Regions from separate parts of the Homo sapiens genome. Here region 1 is linked to region 2. The links are contacts of gene promoters, found by promoter capture Hi-C in human tissues and cell types (Jung and others, 2019). All regions are on one chromosome and are shown on one strand. The core of a region is centred on a gene start or on the middle of the fragment in contact, and the rest is flanking DNA. Distances in the headings are between cores, read along the strand shown. Region 1 overlaps ART4 (ADP-ribosyltransferase 4 (inactive) (Dombrock blood group)). Region 2 holds the start of MGP (matrix Gla protein).

Region 1 (2,886 bases), core at 94-2,593, 48 kb after region 2:
CAAGGATTTCAAACAGCCTGGTGTCTTCAGGGACTCTGAAATTCTGGATGGCTGGTGTGTAGGATGTGTAGGATATGGGAAAAGAATAGGAGTAGGAAGGGAGGAGGGGATTTATCCAGGTAGGAGAATTCTGATGGGGCTTCATTATAAAAGGTCTTGTATTTCATGCTAAGGACCTTTTAATTTTATGCTGTAGGTAATAAGAAGTAATTAGAAGTTTTTAAGGAGTAGAAATCAATTTGGTCAACATCTTAGAAAGGGCTCTGATGACACTGTGAAAAATGAACTGAAGCAGGAAAATTTAGAGATATCAAAATACAAAAAAAAGTTAAACTTTTTTTAAGAAAAACATGGCTGATTGAATTTTATGTTGCCACCTAGCCATTTCATGGAGGGGTAGTTGTGTAGCAAATCCTGTGCCCTTTTTGATTCAGAAAAAAAAAAAAAAAGACTGTTCATATGTAAATTTATTCACACTCACAGTCAGCTGGAACCCAGTTGCAGGGTCTACCTTCAATATATCCCCAAATTTGTCTTCGCTTTATCATTATTGCTATGATTTATAATTCAGGCTCTCAGCATTTCTCAACATTTCAGGGCAGTAGTGTTGCAAAAGTGTTCAAACTGGCATCCACACTGAGGTCTAGAATCTGCTCACTCTGTCCTAGCCATAAATACAGACCAGGGAGAGGAGACCTATCAATACTTTCATCTCCTCACATGTCACCTTGGAAACATGGCAGCAAAACGAGTGAAATGAGTATCTGCCCCACAGACACAGGAGATTAGTGTTTGTAGAGGATGAAAAACTATAGTAGAATATGAAGAAAACAGTGAGATTTTGATAATAAATGAAAACATTCATAGCCAGGTTCCAGGATTCTTTGGAACTACACCTGACTAGGATATGATTACTTCATTCTCATCATGAATTTGGAACATATAATTCTTCACTAGGATAGTAAGCACAGTAAAATATATTCAATGAAAAATTACAGAAGATTTATATTAAGCATTGAGTGGGAAACTGAGGGAAAGGAGTATATAATATAAACCATTACTCACATTCTGCCACTCTATAAACCTCAAAGAAAAATATTTCAGGACACCCCCACCCAAATTAATGATCTTTGCTTTCCTATGGCGAAACTACCCAAATGCAACTTTAACTTAGTTTTGAGTTAAGGTTTAGCTGGGGTAGCCACATAGATCACTAAATTCTGACAGTTCGGTTGGTCTTAATGAAATATTTGGAATCACCAATCACACTTAAGGGAATCAATAATCTTGTGTCGCTCTATAAGCTCCCTGGGGGCAGGAACTCGACTAGTATTTGAGGAACTAGTATTTGAGAACTAGGCAGGCAGGCAGTTTGAGCCCAGACCCACTCTGTTTGAATTTATATCCCACTGTACCACTTAATAGCTATGTGTTCTTGGTCAAGTTGCTTAAACTCTTTTTTCATCTACCTAATAATTATCGTAACAGAACCTCAGAAGACTTTTGTGAAAATGAAATAAAATGTAAAATTATTGGCCAAGTGCGGTGGCTCACACCCGTAATCCCAGCATTTTGGGAGGCCGAGGTGGGTGGATCAATTGAGGCCAGGAGTTTGAGACCAGCCTGGCCAACATGGTGAAACCTCGTCTCTACAAAAAGATACAAAAAGTAGCCAGGTATCATGGCACATACATGCAGTCCCAGCTACTGAGGAGGCTGAGGTAGGAGAATCGCTTGAATCCAGGAGGCGGAGGTTTCAGTAAGCTGAAATCATGCCACTGCACTCCAGCCTGGGCGATAGAGTGAGACTCCATCTTAAAAGAAAAATAAATAAATAAAATTATTTATATATTCTATAGCATATAATAATGGTAAATTAGTGTTAGCTATTACTAACTTCAGTCCTCTGGCACATAGAAGTGCCCAGCCTATTTTGTTGAATGAGTGAATGAATGATGGTGAATATACCTCTAAGCAATCTGAGCCTTAGACTACATGACCATCTAACACAATTAATTAAAAACAGTTCCAATATTTGAAGAAGGGAAGATATTCTAGAAGCTTCAACCCCTAGTCAAAAGTAAGCTGTTGTCACAATGTAAATGATCAACATGGTCACTTGCAATGTGAGTTACCGTAACTAAATTTTTCCCAGAAATTTATCAATTAGAAGCTTGTGTGGCCATGCAGAAAAGCTTGTAAACGGCAGAATAAAAATACCACTGGTCATGATGTGAATCATCCCGTTGTTTGGGGGATCCACAGTCTACACTGTGAGTCACTTAGTAGCCCTCTCAGTGATCAGATCTGCTGTCTCGGTATTGCAGTGTTTGTTTTCAAGTGACCCTCATTTTATTTCATAATGGCCCCAAAGTGCAAGAATAGTGATCTTGGTGATTCAGATATGCCCAAGAGAAAGTGCCTCCTTTGAATGAAAAGTTTAAAGTTCTCAACTTAATATTTTCTTTATAAATTGAAGTGAAGAGGGAAGAGATAGGTCAGAGGCATCATATAATCAGCCAAGAGCTGGAATTGGAGCATTTTCTCACCCTCCACAGCTACGAAACTATCTGGGAAGGTAAAAGAAGGAGAGGAATAAGCTCACATTGCAGGGATGCCTTTCTTCCTTTGATCCCAGACTCTGACTAAGGGTTGCAGAGAAGGCTGGTCCATCCTCTGGTTCTACCTGACCTACCTAAGCCTCATCTGCCATTGGCTAGTTAGCATCACAGTCATTTAGTTGAGGGCAAAAAATTGCAGTAATGCCCCCTTACCTATGGTTTTGCTTTCTCTGGTTTCAGTTACCCGCAGAATATATTAAATGGACAATTCCAGAGATAAAGAATTCCTAAGTTTTAAATGGTATGCCATTCTGAGTGGTGTGAT
Region 2 (2,997 bases), core at 144-2,643:
GACTCTGTTAATATTTATAAAAGCTCTTCACAGGATGGAGGGTGGGAGGGAAACTCCATCCCAACAAGACAAAAAGAATGAAGCATGAGGCTCCACCTAGTTCATCACTGCTCCTTGAAATACATCAGTATTGAAAGACACATCCACCCCACCCCCAACCCAGCCCTATTGCTGTTCCAGCTCAAGAGTCAGAGGTCCCGAAGCTGTAGCTCTTCTACAATCTGCTGCTCTGTGACTTCAAGTCTGTTGTCTGCAAAGAAAACTATTGGGTTCCCAAGCAAGAGAGGCACATCTGGTAGGACAGATTTTGTGATTGCAAAAGAAGGGGGAAAAAAAGAAAGAAAGAAAAGACCTCTCTATACAAGATAACCAGAGGCATCAAACTGAAATCCTCCTGTGGAAAATAAGCTAGTACTTCTGGGCCTGATGGTGTAGTGAAAACCTGTGCTTGAGGATACATTACAGTGAAAGAGCAAAGTGAATAGTAAGTAGCTATTACTTACCTCCTTAGGGAGGTGTGTTGTTTGTCTGTACATCCCCCACAGCACCTAGCACAGTACCTTGCATCTCACCTGCCACTCACTAAAAAGTCTATCAAGTTAGTTAATTATCGAGACAACGCCCTCAGAAATGAGAGAACAGTACCCTCTTATCCTTGCTGCACTTTCCAGCACTGATACGCTGCCTAAAAGAGGACTAGGGCACAGGTTTGAATTAATGTCACAAAACTGGATGGGCAAGTTACAACGGTGTTGATTAAGGAAACAGAACTCATGGTGCACCGGATATCTCCATCCTGATGAACCCTTGGAAAAATGCCAAAGATGCATATCCCCAGGCAAATGCCTGATTAGTCTGGGATTGATAGATTGGTCTAGGATTCAGCCCTACTGGGAAGATGTCTAAATTATAATCAGTGTAGAAAGCGAAGTTCTCCTAGAAGAAGAGGCAAAGGTTAAAAAGAAGAAAAGAAAAGAAAGTGAAGTCCTTTCTCCCCCAAAACCTCTCATCAATCAATCAGGGTAACAAACAGAACACTAGGGCTCTGTCTGTGGACCAAACCCAAAAGCCCTGCGGTCAGGGCCAGGAGGGTAGATCATGTGTTTGTGGCAACTTCCTCTGTGGGCTTTTGCCCAGGTCTGTCCCCAAGCATACGATGGCCAAAACTTCTGCACCAGAGCAGCATCCTGTGTAACACAGTCAGGTCCAGCAGTTAGGGAAAACTGCCCACTCAGAGTAGATAATATCTGGAAGGAATGACTGTTTGGGAAAAGTTCCAATGCTAGTTCAGTGCCAACCCTTCCCCACCTTCTCCAGCTCTCTCCCACTGGTTCCTCCCCTCTCAACTGCTCTGGTTCTTATAAAAACCTCACAGCCTTCCACTAACATCCCGTAGGAGCCTCTCTCCCTACTGCTGCTACACAAGACCCTGAGACTGACCTGCAGGACGAAACCATGAAGAGCCTGATCCTTCTTGCCATCCTGGCCGCCTTAGCGGTAGTAACTTTGTGTTATGGTGAGAAACTTTTCTCCCATTTCTCTGTGTTTACTTTTCTGCCTCTGACTTTGGCTTACTTCTATTTTTCCTCTCCCTCCTCCTCTTCTTCCCCCTTTCTCTGTTATAATCTTAAAGTACCATTACTTTCACATTTCCCAGTCTCCGCAGAAACTGATCTGTTCTATTAAGTCTTTTTTATATCCTAAATATCCAGAGTCTTATGCAACTTAACAGGCAAACCCGTTCAGTGGTAAGTCTCTGTATATCTAGAAACTCATATTTCAGAAAGAAGATACCAAATTCCCAGCCCCCTGCATCCTCATTTTTAAGGATATTTATTTAGACTTTGGTATCAATGGGTTAAGGGTATTGTTTAAACCACTTGCCTTTGAGAAAATCCATTTTTATGTGAAGTATTAAGTATAGCCCTTTCTAGGGACTGGACAATCTCATGAACTTACTATGTTTGTTCAGTTAATTAATTTTAAAATAAAGTTTTACATCAAAAGAATTTTAGAAAAGAATCATTTTCATAACTCCTGTTGTCAGAAAATAAATTTTGCCTGTTTTCTATATGTCATTAAATATACCTGCATTTGTTCAAAGCTTATAAAAGGAAATCTGAAGCAAAGTTATTTACTTATTTCAGTCTTTTGTTTCAATTACCTAGATATTTTCATTGTTTTAAAATTTAAATTACATTAACAACCATAAAGATTATGCTTCTCACTCTTGTATTCACAAATTTTCTGTATTAGAGGATTTGATTTCTTCACCTCCTTTTTAAGTTTTGAAGAAAATTCACTTGCTGGCAAATATTAATAGAAGCTTCTTATTCCAAAATTTATCTGCTGTGCTCAGGAGAGTGGCAGAAAGAAGAAAACTTCGGCTTTGATATCGTTTCAGTTCTCTCTCTGAACTGGCATCGTGCCCAGGGTGAGCTGTCAGCTGGAGCTAGTGGTTTCTGTGGCTGCCAATTTAACACAGGTTCTTAAGAGGCTTTCGGAACCCTCTTAGAAACCTGCCCTAGTAAGCCCAGCAGAGCAACTGCCCTGTAGTTCTCTTGCCTGGAGAAACCTGGCTGTCTTCTGGATCCTTCTTAATCCTCTTTGACCCTGTTCTCAAACAGGCTCTGAATAAATCAGAGAAGAAGGTTCTCTGGAGACTTCTGTACAGCACTTAAAGTGTCTTATTTTGCTTGTCTGAAGACGTCATAGCCCTTGGGAAATTTTAGCTGAAAATGGCCACTCCCTCCTTCAACATCAGAGAAACTAAAATATAGAGATATCCACAGCAAGGCCAGAGCTAGAGAAAAACCTCATAAATCCTAAATTCCTGAAATTTCTAATAACCACACTGCTAAATATATTCTTCATGTTTTTAGACTCTTTCCTCTTCTTCCATCCCTGTATTTAAACTATCACAGTGTCTAAATTGATAAATAATAACATAATGAATCATGGATAAATATTGATATAATGAATCTTTTTTTTTTAATT

Evidence for each region. The method cuts DNA at HindIII sites, captures the fragments that hold promoters and counts their contacts. A contact is called where the count stands out against the background at its distance.
Region 1: a fragment that was not itself captured here is called in contact with the fragment with the promoter of MGP in region 2 in 2 of the 25 tissues and cell types used here (bladder and hippocampus).

The regions. Positions count from the first base shown.
Region 1 is chr12:14,836,463-14,839,348 of GRCh38, reverse strand. The region is part of intron 2 of ART4 (ADP-ribosyltransferase 4 (inactive) (Dombrock blood group)); the gene reads left to right. Among named protein-coding and RNA genes, the nearest start is that of ART4, 5.6 kb to the left of the region's middle. The HindIII fragment of the contact is 5,545 bases long and covers 1-2,886 here.
Region 2 is chr12:14,884,250-14,887,246 of GRCh38, reverse strand. It overlaps MGP (matrix Gla protein), which reads left to right and starts at 1,393. Exons shown (of 4, transcript NM_000900.5): 1 at 1,393-1,516. The coding sequence starts at 1,456. The HindIII fragment of the contact is 8,639 bases long and covers 1-2,997 here.